5 separate regions of the Homo sapiens genome follow, and regions 2, 3, 4 and 5 are each linked to region 1. Evidence: promoter capture Hi-C in 16 types of primary human blood cells and fetal thymus (Javierre and others, 2016). All regions are on one chromosome and are shown on one strand. Each heading gives the region's core, a stretch centred on a gene start or on the middle of the fragment in contact. The rest is flanking DNA. Distances are from core to core; before and after follow the strand shown.

Region 1 (2,738 bases), core at 125-2,624:
AAAACAGTTTGGCAGTTTCTCGAAAAGTTAACCATAGAATTACCATGTGACCCAGTAATTCCACTCTTAGGTGTATACCAAGAAAATTGAAAATAGGGATTCAAACAGATACTTGTACATCAGTGTTCACTACAGCATTATTCACAATAACTAAAAGATGGAAACAACCCAAATGTCTATTAATGGATGAATGAGTAAACGAATTGTGGTATATATATACATAGAATGGAATACTATTCAATCATAAACAGATATGAAGCTCTGATACATCCTACAACATGGATGCACCTTGAATACATTATGTTACTTGAGAGAAGACACAAAAGGACAAATATTGTATGATTCCACTTTTATGACATGAAGTATCTATAATAGGCAAATTCCTAGAGACAGAAATAAGATTAGAGGTTTCTTAGGATTGAGGGGAGAGGAAAATGGGAAGTTGTTGCTTAATGGGTACAGAATTTTTATTTGGGGGTACTAAAAAGCTTTTGGAAAAATATACTGGCGTATTCCACAACATTGTATCATGGAATTGTCACTTGAAAATGGCTAAAAATAGCAAATTTTAACACACATATTACAACAATAAAAAATAAAAAAGTAAAGGTTTGTCAGGCATTTAATAATTAATACCTTTCATTGTTTTTGTCTGGAAAGAGTGTGTGCAAAGATACTTAACAACCAAATGTAATGTGTGATCCTTGATCGGCTCTTGCATTTTTTTTTTTTTTTTTTGAGACGGAGTCTCACTCTGTCGCCCAAGCTGCTGGAATGCAGTGGCGCGATTGGCTCTTGCTTTCTAAATAAAATGCCTATAAGATATTCTTAGGACAAGTGGGGGAAATTAAATCGGGAAGAGAATTATTATGAAATTAATGATCTTAGGTATAATAATTGTACTGCGGTTATGTAGCAGAACATCTATTCTTAGGAGATACATGCTGCAATGTTAAAGGGTTAAGTGTTACAATGTCTGCAATGTTAAAGGGTTAAGTGTTACAATGTCTGTAACTTACTTGCAAATGGTGACCCCAAAAAGGTGTGTGTGTGTGTGTGTGTGTGTGTGTGTGTGTGTGTGTGTGTGTGTGTGTGTGTGTGTGTCTGTGTACGCGCTTTGGAAGGCTACAATTGCGAGAAGCGCAGGTCTCCGCCACCGAAGCTTTAGACTCATAAGCCGGGTCAGGCCAAATTCCGCTGTGCGTAGGGGAACAAACGGCACAAACGGGGCACAAAAGGGGAACAAACGGCATACGCAACCGTCCCCGCGGGAGCCCCGGCCCAGCTCAGCGCACCCGCCAGCATGCCCCACCCTGATTGGTCCACTTGCTCAGCTCGCCGGCACCCCTATATCCAATTGGCGTAGCGCTTGCTGAGCGGCGGCGGCAACCGACGTACACAAGGGGCTTGAGCGTTCTGTGGAGAGAGTGCGAGGTCAGGCCATGAACTTGGGGTAAGCAGGGGTAAGCTGGGGTAAGCTGGGGTAAGCAAGGTGGTCGTCAGCGGAGAGGGAGGCATGTGTGTCTGGGTTGTCCCTTGGAGTCTTTACTGGAGAACGTTCCCAACCTGCGCCGCCGAGAGGGGCAGAGCCCAGTTCTCGGGTAGAAGATCGAGGCAGATGGGTCGGCCCTTAGCGACTCCACAGACCTTACGTTTTCACTTAATGACTAGCATTAAAACTGCCAGTGATCCCCTTTCGGTCCCTTATTTACCTCAGGATGAGGAGGGAAGAGAGGTGAGGAGGAAAGGAGAGAAATGACGAGACAGTTAGAGGAAGCGTGGCGGCTCCTGGGGAGGACTCCTGGCCCATGCCCCGGGTTCTTCGCCACCTTGTTTTTGGAGTCTTGCAGAATGTTGAAACGCCCAAATTCGTTTTAGGCCCACGAGGCGGGGAACCAGGCTTCTCAAGAAATCGATGTAGTACCAGTGCCTAACACCTAGTAGGCGCTCCTTAAGTAGGGGTGAATAAATAAAAAGGGCTGGTGCATGGTCTTCATCACTCGCAAGTTTGATATTTTGAGAAGATGAGAAGCCACCAAACTCAGACCTAACTACACATCGTTCAGCAAATGTTATTATGTTTTAGAATCTGGGGATATGGAAATAAATAAGATAGTGTGTCCCTTAAGGAGATTACAGTGCAGTGCGTCATTGAAGGTACTTTACCATTGAAGCTCTTTTCTTTCTTGGTGACGTTTCACCAACATAAACACGAACTGTTCATAACCCTACAATAAGGAAAGCCGTAAAACCTATTCTTTCCAGTGTTTTACCTTTAATAGTTAAGGTGAGGTAATTTGATTTCCCCTACCTGAGCAACACCGCAAATTTCGCATTCCTAATCAGACCTTTCCCAGCCTCTCTCTCCCTTGACTGGCTTGCTGGATTTAATTTTCTCTCTCTGAATTATGGACTGTATGTATGGGCTGCCATTTTTGTTCTCAGTGGAGTTTTAGGACCTTAACAGACGTTCAAGTTTTGTTGGCAGTGGCTACTGTTACTTTATGCCTTTGCTTCTGATATGCACGTATAAAGCACCATACTAAATATCACTATGTATTATTTGAAATATTGAAAGTGGTACTCTTTGCTCAAGCAGTTACTAACCTTGATGGCATTGTTAGTAGTCATATCGATGCTCCAGCACTCCATAGAATGTTTTAGTCATGAGTTCATTATGAAACTAATGAATGGCGGTTAAATATATCTTGTTCCTTTAACTTATGTGAGGAGTTTTG
Region 2 (2,738 bases), core at 152-2,651, 450 kb after region 1:
ACCAGTTGTTCCTGCCATTGATTGCGCTGGTTCCAGAAACACCTCCAACAGCCCTGAAGGAAAGACAGCCATGAAACAGTCACCACTGCACGTGCCTTCTGCTGAGGCTGAGCTGGAATTGATTTTGTTTATTCCAAAATCAGGCTTGGAAAGTGAGAATTTGGTCTTCCAGGTGAAAACAGGCAGGCATCTTGGTTTTCTGCAGAACCTCCTATTTTTAAAATTGGGTTGCTCACAGGGGATGGATGCTTTGACCCGAACACACAATGTTTTTCAAAAACAGAGGCCATGCCTGCAGTGTTGCGCCCGCCCCTCCACATTTACCACCACACTCAGCCTCTTCCTAGCCGACCAGGGACGGGTGAGTTCCGGGAACTCTGCTGCTCATGAGTCACCCTCCAGGGGCCTGACAACTGCTCCTGGATCCTGATCAGTTTTCTTCAAGAGACTGGCTTTGGTGTTTAGGGCTCACGCTGCAATAGCTTGCAAAAATAAAACTTCTCTCCTTATTACGAGCAGAGTGAGCAAGCACATGAGAACACAAGAATCAAACCCTGCCCCTCTCCTCCTGCATAACAGGAAACATTCATTTCTGAGCCCCTAGGTCAGGCTATCATTTGGCAGCTCAACTATTTTAGCAAAGGCAAGTTTCTCATCACCTTTTCCCGGCAGGGCTGCTTAGCTGGGCACCTTGGGTTTGTGCCATGGTCCAGGGGCAGTCTGGACTTTCCTGGCCAGAGGACAAAGCTGGATTGGCCTAACACCACGAGAATTTTTCTAGCCTGCTTTGTGCTCTGCTGAGATCTCCAAAATATATTAACCGTGTAGATCCTTGGGCAGAAAATTCTCTGTTGAGCCACGCTACATGTACTTTCCTAGAACAGATCAAACTTCAGCAAAATTAAATCTGTGAGCTTTTCAGTATGATTAATCCCTAGGAGGTGGCCCTGCCAAGAATAGCCTTGTCTGGAAACGTGTGAGCCTTTTTGGCTCAACCGAGAATGAAGACCACGCTCACGCTTCCTGGGGCTCCTGTGGTCACTCTGCTAGCTCCACAGAGCAGTTTGGATGACCCCTTTACCTGCAATAAAACTCCACGTAACAGCCCGCTTGCCAAACAGAAACACACTGTCTGGATGGAATTGGAAGAAATAGATCTGCAGTGGGAGCTCCAGAGAGCTGGATTCCACGGACAAGCCTTTTTTTTTTTTGAGACAGAGACTCACTCTGTTACCCAGGCTGGAGCGCAGTAGCGTGATCTTGGCTCACAGCAACTTCTGTCTCCCAGGTTCAAGCAATTCTCCTGCCTCAGCCTCCCAAGTAGCTGGGATTATAGGCAATTACACCCAGCTAATTTTTGTTATGTTTAGTAGAGACGGGGTTTCTCCATGTTGGCCAGGCCGGTCTTGAACTCCTGGCCTCATCTGATCCACCCACCTCAGCCTCCCAAAGTGCTGGGATTACAGGCATGAGTCACTGTACCAGGCCCTGTCATTTTTCTCTGGACCTCTGTTTCCGCATCTGTAAACCCTAGGGGCACAAGCACAGCATCTCTCAAGTCCCTTGCAAGCTGGTGGATTTTCAATTCCAGCTCAAAAATATATTTAAAAGAATTTTTTTCAATGAATTGCCAACATTTCAAAGTCCAGATGGCTCTCATGAGAATTGGGAAGTTTTACATTAAGATTCCAATTTCTACATGATCTTGGGAAATTGGCAGATCTGGCCCCATGGGCTAGCATTCTCAACAGGAGGCAGGAACCAGGATGGGCCATGAGTTCCTGGGAAACAGAATGCATGGCCCAAGCCATTGCTCTCATTTTCATGATGGGCTGGCCCTGTGAGCCTCAAGTTTGAGGCTCCCATTCTGAGGTCCGGCTCCTCCCCACCCCTGCCCTTTAACATATTGCTTAAACTTTTTCACTTTTCATTTCAGCTGAACGCTCAAGAATGAACTATGAAATCAAAATTTTTTATTTAAAAAAAATAGTACCAAAAAATCTGTTAAGTGGAGATCCACCAACTTGGGGCCTATCCCCCAGCCTGCCTGCAATTCTGACACTGCTCATGCAAGGAACCTAGAGCTACTTCTAAAGTTCCCCGGACCCTCTGACCTCTATGGGCTGTCTCGCACAACCCGCCACCCCTTATCCCAGTCCCTCAGCCCCTCAGCCAAGAATCCATGTTTGGGACCCATGACAGTGAGGCTAGAGGCGGGTGGATCTCTGAGCGGGGTGGTAGCTACATCTGCATTTTATCAGCCTGCTGGACAGGCCAGGATGTGAAGGGTGGCTGCAGGCCTGCCAAGTTGCTGGAGGAGATTAAACAAAAAGTGAGCCACACTGCTGCGGGAAACAAATGAGAGTGCGTGGAGAAGACTCCCAGCACACCCAGTGTGTGTCTGTGTGATGGAATGCCAGGGTAAGAAGATGGGACCTTGTTCCACATCTCTTTAAAGGAACCACACAAGCCAAGAGACACAGGATGGAATCTCAGTTCTCAAACCAGCCCATCTCATTGGAGGTGGTAATAATAATCATGTTATGATTAATTAATAATAATAATAGTGAGCAGCAACACAGCATGACAGCTAACATTTAGTAAGCTCTTACTCTGTGCAAAGCATGGGTATTCTCGTCATACCCATTTTAAAGATGATGAAACAGAGGCACAGCAAGGCCATGAACTCAAACAAAGTCACACCGCAGCAAGTGGTGGAGCAGGAACTGGACCACAGG
Region 3 (2,738 bases), core at 63-2,562, 430 kb after region 1:
GGAGTGATGGTCATAATCTTAATAGTAATGATGGTCCATGGATATTGAATCCTTACTGCGGGTGAAGTGATGTTTAAAACACTTTGGAGGCCGGGTGTGATGGCTCATGCCTGTAATCCCAACACCTTGGGAGGCCATGATGGGAGGATCACATGAGGCCAGGAGTTCGAGACCTGCCTGGGTAAGATGGCAAAACCCCATCTCTACAAAAATTGAAAAAATTAGCTGGGCATGGTGATGCATGCCTGTAGTCCCAGCTACTAGGAAGGCTAAGATGGGAGGATCCTTTGAGCCCAAGAGGTCAAAGCTGCAGTGAGCTGTGATCGTCCCACTATACTCCAGCCTGGGTGATGGAGTGAGACCCTGACTCAGAAAACAAACAAACAAGTAACTCTGGGTTGCCAACGCCTCATTATAGTCCATACTTTCTGGACAGATTCTGTTAACATCACCATCTTGCAGATGAGGAATCTGGGGCATAATCATGTGCCGGCCACAGGGAGAGCAGAGCTCTGACTTCAGGGCTCCCCCTCTTTGTCTCTCAACTGTTACCAGCACCAGCACTGGGCTGAGCTCTGGGCAATGCAACGGCTGAGCAGGAGTAGGAGGGAAGTGTTTGGCACAGGAGGCTCCAGGCCCAATCTGCAGGCAGGAGGGAAGGAGCTGCTGGAAAGAGAAACAGAAGATGAAAGGGACTCTGGGGACGGGGTGATGAACACTCCTGGGCATGCCCTTAGCTAAGAGCCACTACACTGGGGTTTTGCTGAGAGCTTCTCAGCAGCAGAAACCTTGGGTCAAGCCCAATCCTACATAAACCTGGTAGAAGCAGAGTTGATCTAGAAGGAAGGAAAGGAAGGAGCCAGCCCCACTAACCTCACTCCCCCTACCGTGCACAGCCAATCCTGCAGCCACTAAGAGACCACCTCAGGAACATGGACACCTCAGGGCCTCCACTCACAGCGTATGCTCTCTGAGGGCTGGCTGGCTTTCTCTTCCTTTTCAATTTTCAAGTATTTGATTAACACATTCAAAACTAAAATAATTAAAATTAGCCAGAGATGCACTGTGTCTTGTGTGCACACCACTGGCTTACCACCTGATGTCCAGAGCATAAATGGGACTCCACAAATGGGTGACAGACAGGTATGGGCAACAGCTCTGAGGGGTCAACCTGGCTCCTCCTTCACCTGCTAAGTGACCCTCAGCAAGTACCTGACCCTCACAAAACCTCAGAAGTTCCAGCAGTTCCCCACCTCTTGGGACTTTAAGAGGGTTGTTTTGTTTTCTTTGGTTTTGTGTTTTGTTTTTGTTTGTTTGTTTTGAGATGGAGTCTCACTCTGTCGCCCAGGCAGGGGAGTGCAGTGGCGCGATCTTGGCTCACTGCAACCTTCGCCTCCCAGGTTCAAGTGATTCTCCTGCCTCAGCCTCCTGAGTAGCTGGGACTACAGACGCACGCCACCATGCCCAGCTAATTTTTTTGTATTTGTAGTGGAGACGGGGTTTCACCATGTTGGTCAGGCTGGTCTTGAACTCCTAATCTCGTGATCCACCCGCTTCGGCCTCCCAAAGTGCTGCGATTACAGGCATGAGCCACCCCACCTGGCCTAAGAGAGTTAAATAAGCTAGTAGTCATAAAAGTGCCCAGCACATGATAAGAGCACAATAAATGTCACCTGTCATTATTATTAATAGCATCAACAAGATTAAAAGTATGTTGGCAGGGAGAGGAAGAATCCACAGGAAAGAATTAAAGTGTCCCCATGGGAAGCACAGTGCCCTGCATGTCCCAGTGTTGTTCCCTACTAGGACTGGCCAGTGAATGCTCTGGTTTTTGCAACTGTCTCTTTAATTTTTGTACCAAAGGGAGGCAGGGCCCAGACCATGGAGGTGTGAAGCTCACGAGTTTGGCAGGCTGGGCTCATCTGGAGCCCAGTATTAATTAATTGGTGTTTATGCAACAGTATGTGCCCATCTGGCCCCGTTTCTGTCTGAATCTTGTGCTCAGAACCTTGGAGAATGCATCTCCCTCATGACTTTTCTAGACTTTGATGCCCAGACAACAGCAGATGCGGGTGTTAAAATAATAGCACCAACACTGCAACTCTAAAAGGGGAAGGTACCCTCTTGAGGACTCAAAGTTAAATTACAAATAGCTGGAAGACAATTTTTTCCAGGGCTCCTGCAGCCACTGAACGTTTCCAAGGAGAAAGACAGCACCGATTGTGAGTGAAGAGTGCCCTCTGCTGGCCGGTATTAGAAAACTTCAGTTGATTACTTCGTCCATGCCTCCCGGAGGGCTCCAGCTCCGCTGCCGGGTGGCAAGTCTCAAGTACCCTATTTAGTTCTTTTTTAAAATCTGAACTGAAAACAAAAAGTCTTCTTTTCCTAAAAGGATAAGAGATGAAAGAAAGGACAAGGTCAAGGAGCATTTTATTCCACTCCTCGCTTGCGTTTTTTTTTTGCTGGTGCACTAGAAATGGCCCTGTGGATGCTGTAGCGTGACATCTGCCTCAGAGAATACAAGTAACTTGGGGAGAGCAATCAAGTGTCCACAGGTGGCCCACAGCAGTGCCCCATTTCCATTTTAAGAGGCTGTCCTCTTGACTAGACTCCAAAGTGTACAGAGAGACACTCCGAGCCAAAACTGCTGCTTCCTTGCAGAAAACCCCAGCAGGTCTGTGCCCAGGGGGCAGGGGGCTCCTGGTGGCTGAGCAATCACAGTGGCTGAGAGCTGGCGC
Region 4 (2,738 bases), core at 147-2,646, 370 kb after region 1:
AAATTCAGGTAACACTAAGGAAAAACAAAATTTGGGTGTTACTAGGTTATCAGGGAGGCATAAAGCACAGCAAGCCAGTGAGAAATAAAAAGAATATCAAATTAGAGCCTGAGAGTTGCTCACAGTCATGCACTTTTATTGAATGTCTTTATCTACTCCTCAAAGCTGGAAGGGTGGTTAATCCAAGTAAAACCTGAACAATTCCTCTGCCTGCTTCACCATGAACTCTAGACAAATGGAGCAGCGGTGTCCAGACACTTTCCCAGGCCAAGGCCTATTGGACTCAAGGTGGTTCAACTCAAGAGACTGTGAACATTTGAAAATGTTGATGCTCTTGGAGAGCCCTGCTTAGTATCCCAGCTCAACAAGATTATAAAATGATGAGAAGAATGTGGGAGCAGACCTGGCTGCTCAAGGTCAAGAATGAATAAATAGAAAAGTCTTCATCTATGGTTTCAACACAGGAACTAAAAATAAATGATGCTGGAACATGGAAGTCTCAACGATTGCTAGTCATGGCTAATCTTGAGTGCTTATCTTACTGGTTTTGTTACAAGCAATCGCCTGAGCTCTGTCTTTATTCTCTCTAAACAAATCTGAACTTTTATAACCAGATTCCTCACATTATTTTGGCAACTGATACATGGGCAGCTATTTTTAAAAGTGAATGCAAAAAAAAAAAAGGAAAGCTGATGTATGCTGTGAAGCAGCCACCGGCCTGGCCGCTGCGGTTCTGCCTCCTTGACTAACACAAGAAGCAAGGGCCACCTGAAGAATTTCTGCATGAAGCACACAGGGGCCGCTTGCAAATAAGCTCATCCAGTTTATTTCTTAGAAACATAAACACCCTGGGTGCAGCTTTTTCAAGAAACTGTCAAGTCTCCTTCCTTACACTGTCAGTTAAAAGTGAAACTCCTGTCTGTGGGTTACTGACCTCTGCACAATTTTTAGGAAGAAAAAAAAGTTTAAAAACTGATTAGCTGATATCTATCAGCCAAAGGGCTTCCTTACTTGGAAATGAGACTTACTATTTGGCATTGCACTGTCAAAGTTGGTTGGAAGTGGAAAATCTGAATATGGGGGTGGGAGGGAGGGGTATTTCTGACACTTACATGAATACTCAGGAGGATTTTTAAAAGTAATCTGCCTAGATCAAAAAACAATGCTTGACACACCGAATTTCCAAGTTAAAAATATATAACAAAAGCAAGAATCATTCTTATTAAAAAGTTTCTCACCATTATTTTGACTTCAGATAACTCTTTAGGGATAATTTCTGGGAAAAACCATCTGGCTGGAATAGTTAACAATAAATTAATATTTGGGCTCTGTGATTTTTGGCTCTGCCATTTACTAGTTGAATGACCTGGTAAGTCACTCTTAATTTCCTTGATCTTTAGTTTCCTTATCTGTAAAACAGGAATGACTCCTTTATCCCTAGCAGGTTGCAGGGAGGATGGTAGGATACTAACTGACATATGTATTTAAAAGCAGAACAGCCTGGGTGCAGTGGCTCACGCCTGTAATCCCAACACTTTGGGAAGCGTAGGCGGAAGGATCAGCTGAGGTCAGGAGTTCAAGACCAGCTTGGCCAAAATGGCAAAACCCCATCTCTACTAAATATATATATATATATATATATATATATATATATATATATATATATATATAAATTAGTTGGGCATGGTGGCGTGTGCCTATAATACCAGCTACTCGGGAAGCTGGGACAGGAGAATCACTTGAACCCAGGAGGCAGAGGTTGCAGTGAGCCAAGATCGTGCCACTCCAGCCTGGGCAACAGAGCAAGACTCCGTCTCAAAAAAAGAAGCAGAACAATGGATGATGGGAACTTTGGGCCATCATACTATTGTTTCTATTTTTGTATAGGTTTTAATTTTTCCATAATAAAATATTTTTTAAAAGACAAAGGCACAGTAATAATTTATTTTTTTTCAAACAGAAGAGGAAATTTTTTGGTGTAACGATGGAAACTGGTTCAAATTTTCCTCCTAGCAAATTGAAAAGCAGTACCAAATCTGAAATCCAGAGTTTGATTTTTCTATCCTGATTTGACTGTCAACTGGGCATCTAAGAAAAAGGTAATAGAAACTAGCAGTTTCCCATTTCCCTTCTTCCTTCCAATAGAGAAAAAAAATGAGAGCATAGTTAAAACTTAAGTCATATTTATTTTTTTAATCTTACAATGCTGACTTCCCTGAAATCCCTGTATCCATCTAGAAAGTTCAAGACTTTTATGAAAATACCCCCAAGAAACCAAGAGATTTAAAAGCATGTGTGTCCCATGACTCAGAGTGTTCATTCTGCCTAAACACCAGTGAAAGTGGTTTTTTGTTTTGTTATGTTTTGGGTGTGTTCATGTGTACATGAAGAATTGGTATTGCCACTTTTTCTCCCTTAATTCAGAATCAGAAAGGAATCACCAAAACACTGGAAAATAGCAAACCAAATGAGACAGGTGGAAAGGGCTTCCAACTCTCACCCAAGGTAACTGGTCCTGGTTGGAAGCTCAGCACCTCCTCCCAGTTAGGGCTCTGCCCTGGAGGCTGTCCCTTTAAGTCAGACTTCCTGGTAAGGCTGAGAGATTTCCGCATGCAGCTTCCTGGAGACCGTATAAGATAAACAATAAACTTTGCAACAAAATCATGGACAATAAGCCCCACGTGGCTGTAACAAGAAGCAATTATAAGCATTGACAATGGCTAGGGCATTTCCAACAG
Region 5 (2,738 bases), core at 62-2,561, 330 kb after region 1:
AACCAGGGGCCAGGCATGGTGGCTCACGCCTGTAATTCCAGCACATTGGGAGGCCGAGGCAGTTGGATCACCTGCGGTCAGGAGTTCCAGACCAGCCTGGCCAATATGGTGAAACCCCGTCTCTACTAAAAATGTAAAAATTAGCTGGGCATGATTGTGTGCACCTGTAATCTCAGCTACTTGGGAGGCTGAGGCAGGAGAATCGCTTGAACCTGGGAGACGGAGGTTGCGGTGAGCCGAGATCGCACCATTGCACTCCAGCCTGGGCAATAAGAACGAAACTCCATCTCAAAAAAAAACAAAAACAAAAACAAAAAACAAAAATGACCAGGGGGTCCCTTTGCTAATTTGCAATAGAGCAAAGTCCTGTGCATATTCCAATGGGAGGTCTCATGGAGATATGGGTATTCCTGGAAGGATCAAGTGAACATTGCCAGAGACTCGTTACTGCCTCTGCTTGAGAGATCCTGCTAGCTTGACCTTCACCTGAACCTTTCGACCCACTTTCACAAACATTATTGTTTCCAGGACACTCTGTGGCTATCTCTTTTTAGGGTTGGCTACCTTCTGATATCACAAGGCAGACATCTGAATCTCATCGGTAAATAACCCATGAACAAACTGCCTTTTCGGTTGTCCTGGGGAAGATTCTCTGTGAAAAGCACTGATCCTATCCTTACCCGACAACAGATTCTCAGAAGAGCTGGCCGTGGTCCAAGCCTGAATAGCGTGTCCTTACCTGGCTTAACTTCCATCCTCTCCAGACCTCCTTTGAGGTTTTGAGAAAATCACCAGGTGCCTTCCAATACAAAAGTGGAGGGAAACAGACGCTGGAATTGGGCACCTACTATGAGCCAAGGACTATGCTCTCAGTTTAATGGATTGTGCCATTTAAGCTTCTCCTCAGCCCGGTTTAAGTAAGCCTTGTGGTGTTCATTTTAACAGAGAGGAACGCTGAAGCTCAGGAAGGTTTTAGTAACTTGCTCAAGGTCACAAAGTGAGTGAGTGCTGGAGAGAGGATTTTCTGGAGGCCACCCTGACTGCCAAACCACTGACCTCTCTGCATATGATGCTATTTCTCTTTGTACATTGTTTAAAAACAATCTGCGTTTCCTTTAAATTAATACATACAAATAAGGTAAAATACATTTAAATATTTGTTTCATGGCTGGGCGCAGTGGCTCATGCTTGTAATCCCAGCACTTTGGGAGGCCGAGATGGGCGGATCACCTGAGGTCAGGAGTTTGAGACCAGCCTGGCCAACATGGTGAAACCTCATCTCTACTAAAAATACAAAAATTAGCTGAGCGTGGTAGCGTGCGCCTGTAATCATAGCTATCCAGAAGGCTGAGGCAGGAGAATCGCTGGAACCCAGGAGGCAGAGGCTGCAGTGAGCCAAGGTCGCACCACTGCACTCCAGCCTGGGTGACAGAGCAAGACTCCTTCTCAATAAATAAATAAATAAATACATAAATAATTGTTTAAAATCATATGTGTTTTAAAACAATATAAAAAGACCCACAAGGCATTTACCTACATACCTCAAAGAAACTAAGAGCATAAATGAGACAGTTCAAAATGCAGCTCCACCTTTGCTACTTGGTGTGACCTTGGGCAAATTACTTCTCTATTCCTTCATTCACTCAACAAATATTTACTGAGCATTTACTATGTGCCAGGCAGGTTCTAAGTGTATGGGATACGTCAGTGTCTATAAAGCAGTTCTATAAGCTTTGGTTTTCTCCATCATGGGGTTATTTCAAGTATTAAAAGAAATAAAATATTTCGAACAGAGCCAGACATATGGCAAGAGATTTGAAAAATGTAATTATTATTGCTACTGCGGTTATTACCGTAATTACTATTACTACTGCTGTCACTGCTGGCATAATTATTTTGTTGTTATTTGATGTTGAGAGTCAGGCAGGGAGGGTATTAGAGATGGCAGGATCCTGCAGAATGATGGGCAGGAGACCTGGTACGCTGCCTGACTCTTTCTAACTACCCAGGTCCCAGAGGACTATCCACAAACACTCTCAGGATACCTTCAGTCACATTTGCACTGTGTCGTTCCCACTTCTTTCACAGAGACAAGGGCTACTGCAAGCCTGACTTAATTTTAAATGGCCAAGATTGAACTGATTAGTGTCAGAACAACCCTGTTATTTAATCACTGGGCTTTTCTATTTAATAACCAGGTGACCAGAGCAGCAAAAACGTACTGATTGAGAGAGTGCAGCTCCTGACTTGGCAGCAAATAGTCCCTGATTAGTCATTTGTAATTATTAAATTCAAACCAGATCTCGAACCTTTTTGATTTATCTCTTTGCTGGCAAACAACTTTGGTGGTTTCAGAGGCTTTGATGCCTTGCCTTTCATCTGCTCTTTCTTTGCGGAAAGATTAGCAAAAGGATTTTGTGTTCTTGTACTTGCCCTTAGCTGGAACTTGACTTGCTAAATTCACGTTTTAGCAGGGAGAGGATCCACATTTTGTTCTTCTCCAGTCTGAAGCTCCAGAAGTGAATGAGAGAATTGAAAGAAGGAGCACCAACTCCATTTTTAAAAAGTAAAAAAAAAAAAAAAAAATAGAGACGAGATCTCCCTATGTCTTGCAGGCTGGTCTCAAACTTCTGAGCTCAAGCAATCCTCTCGCCTCCACCTCCCAATGTGCTGGGATTACAGGTGTGACCCACCGTGCCTGGCCCCTACTCCATTTTTAGTACACTGCTTTTTTTTTT

Evidence for each region. Contacts are between HindIII fragments. The CHiCAGO score rates a contact against its expected background, and 5 or more counts as called.
Region 2: a fragment that was not itself captured here is called in contact with the fragment with the promoter of CCDC66 in region 1 in 1 of 17 cell types (activated CD4 T cells); the score reaches 5.8 in activated CD4 T cells.
Region 3: a contact is called between a fragment that was not itself captured here and the fragment with the promoter of CCDC66 in region 1, in 9 of 17 cell types (total CD4 T cells, naive CD8 T cells, naive CD4 T cells and 6 more). The highest score is 14.4, in total CD4 T cells.
Region 4: a contact is called between a fragment that was not itself captured here and the fragment with the promoter of CCDC66 in region 1, in 4 of 17 cell types (naive CD4 T cells, total CD4 T cells, total CD8 T cells and 1 more). The highest score is 9.2, in naive CD4 T cells.
Region 5: a fragment that was not itself captured here is called in contact with the fragment with the promoter of CCDC66 in region 1 in 1 of 17 cell types (naive CD8 T cells); the score reaches 5.0 in naive CD8 T cells.

The regions. Positions count from the first base shown.
Region 1 is chr3:56,555,801-56,558,538 of GRCh38, forward strand. It overlaps CCDC66 (coiled-coil domain containing 66), which reads left to right and starts at 1,375. Exons shown (of 18, transcript NM_001141947.3): 1 at 1,375-1,453. The coding sequence starts at 1,443. RefSeq lists enhancers at 818-1,490, 1,491-2,162, 1,631-1,790. The HindIII fragment of the contact is 1,896 bases long and covers 1,161-2,738 here.
Region 2 is chr3:57,007,284-57,010,021 of GRCh38, forward strand. It overlaps a transcript of ARHGEF3 not described here. Among named protein-coding and RNA genes, the nearest start is that of SPATA12, 52 kb to the right of the region's middle. RefSeq lists an enhancer at 298-592. The HindIII fragment of the contact is 4,420 bases long and covers 1-2,738 here.
Region 3 is chr3:56,986,842-56,989,579 of GRCh38, forward strand. It overlaps a transcript of ARHGEF3 not described here. Among named protein-coding and RNA genes, the nearest start is that of ARHGEF3-AS1, 48 kb to the left of the region's middle. The HindIII fragment of the contact is 9,338 bases long and covers 1-2,738 here.
Region 4 is chr3:56,921,406-56,924,143 of GRCh38, forward strand. It overlaps a transcript of ARHGEF3 not described here. Among named protein-coding and RNA genes, the nearest start is that of ARHGEF3-AS1, 17 kb to the right of the region's middle. The HindIII fragment of the contact is 5,814 bases long and covers 1-2,738 here.
Region 5 is chr3:56,888,614-56,891,351 of GRCh38, forward strand. It overlaps a transcript of ARHGEF3 not described here. Among named protein-coding and RNA genes, the nearest start is that of ARHGEF3-AS1, 50 kb to the right of the region's middle. The HindIII fragment of the contact is 835 bases long and covers 895-1,729 here.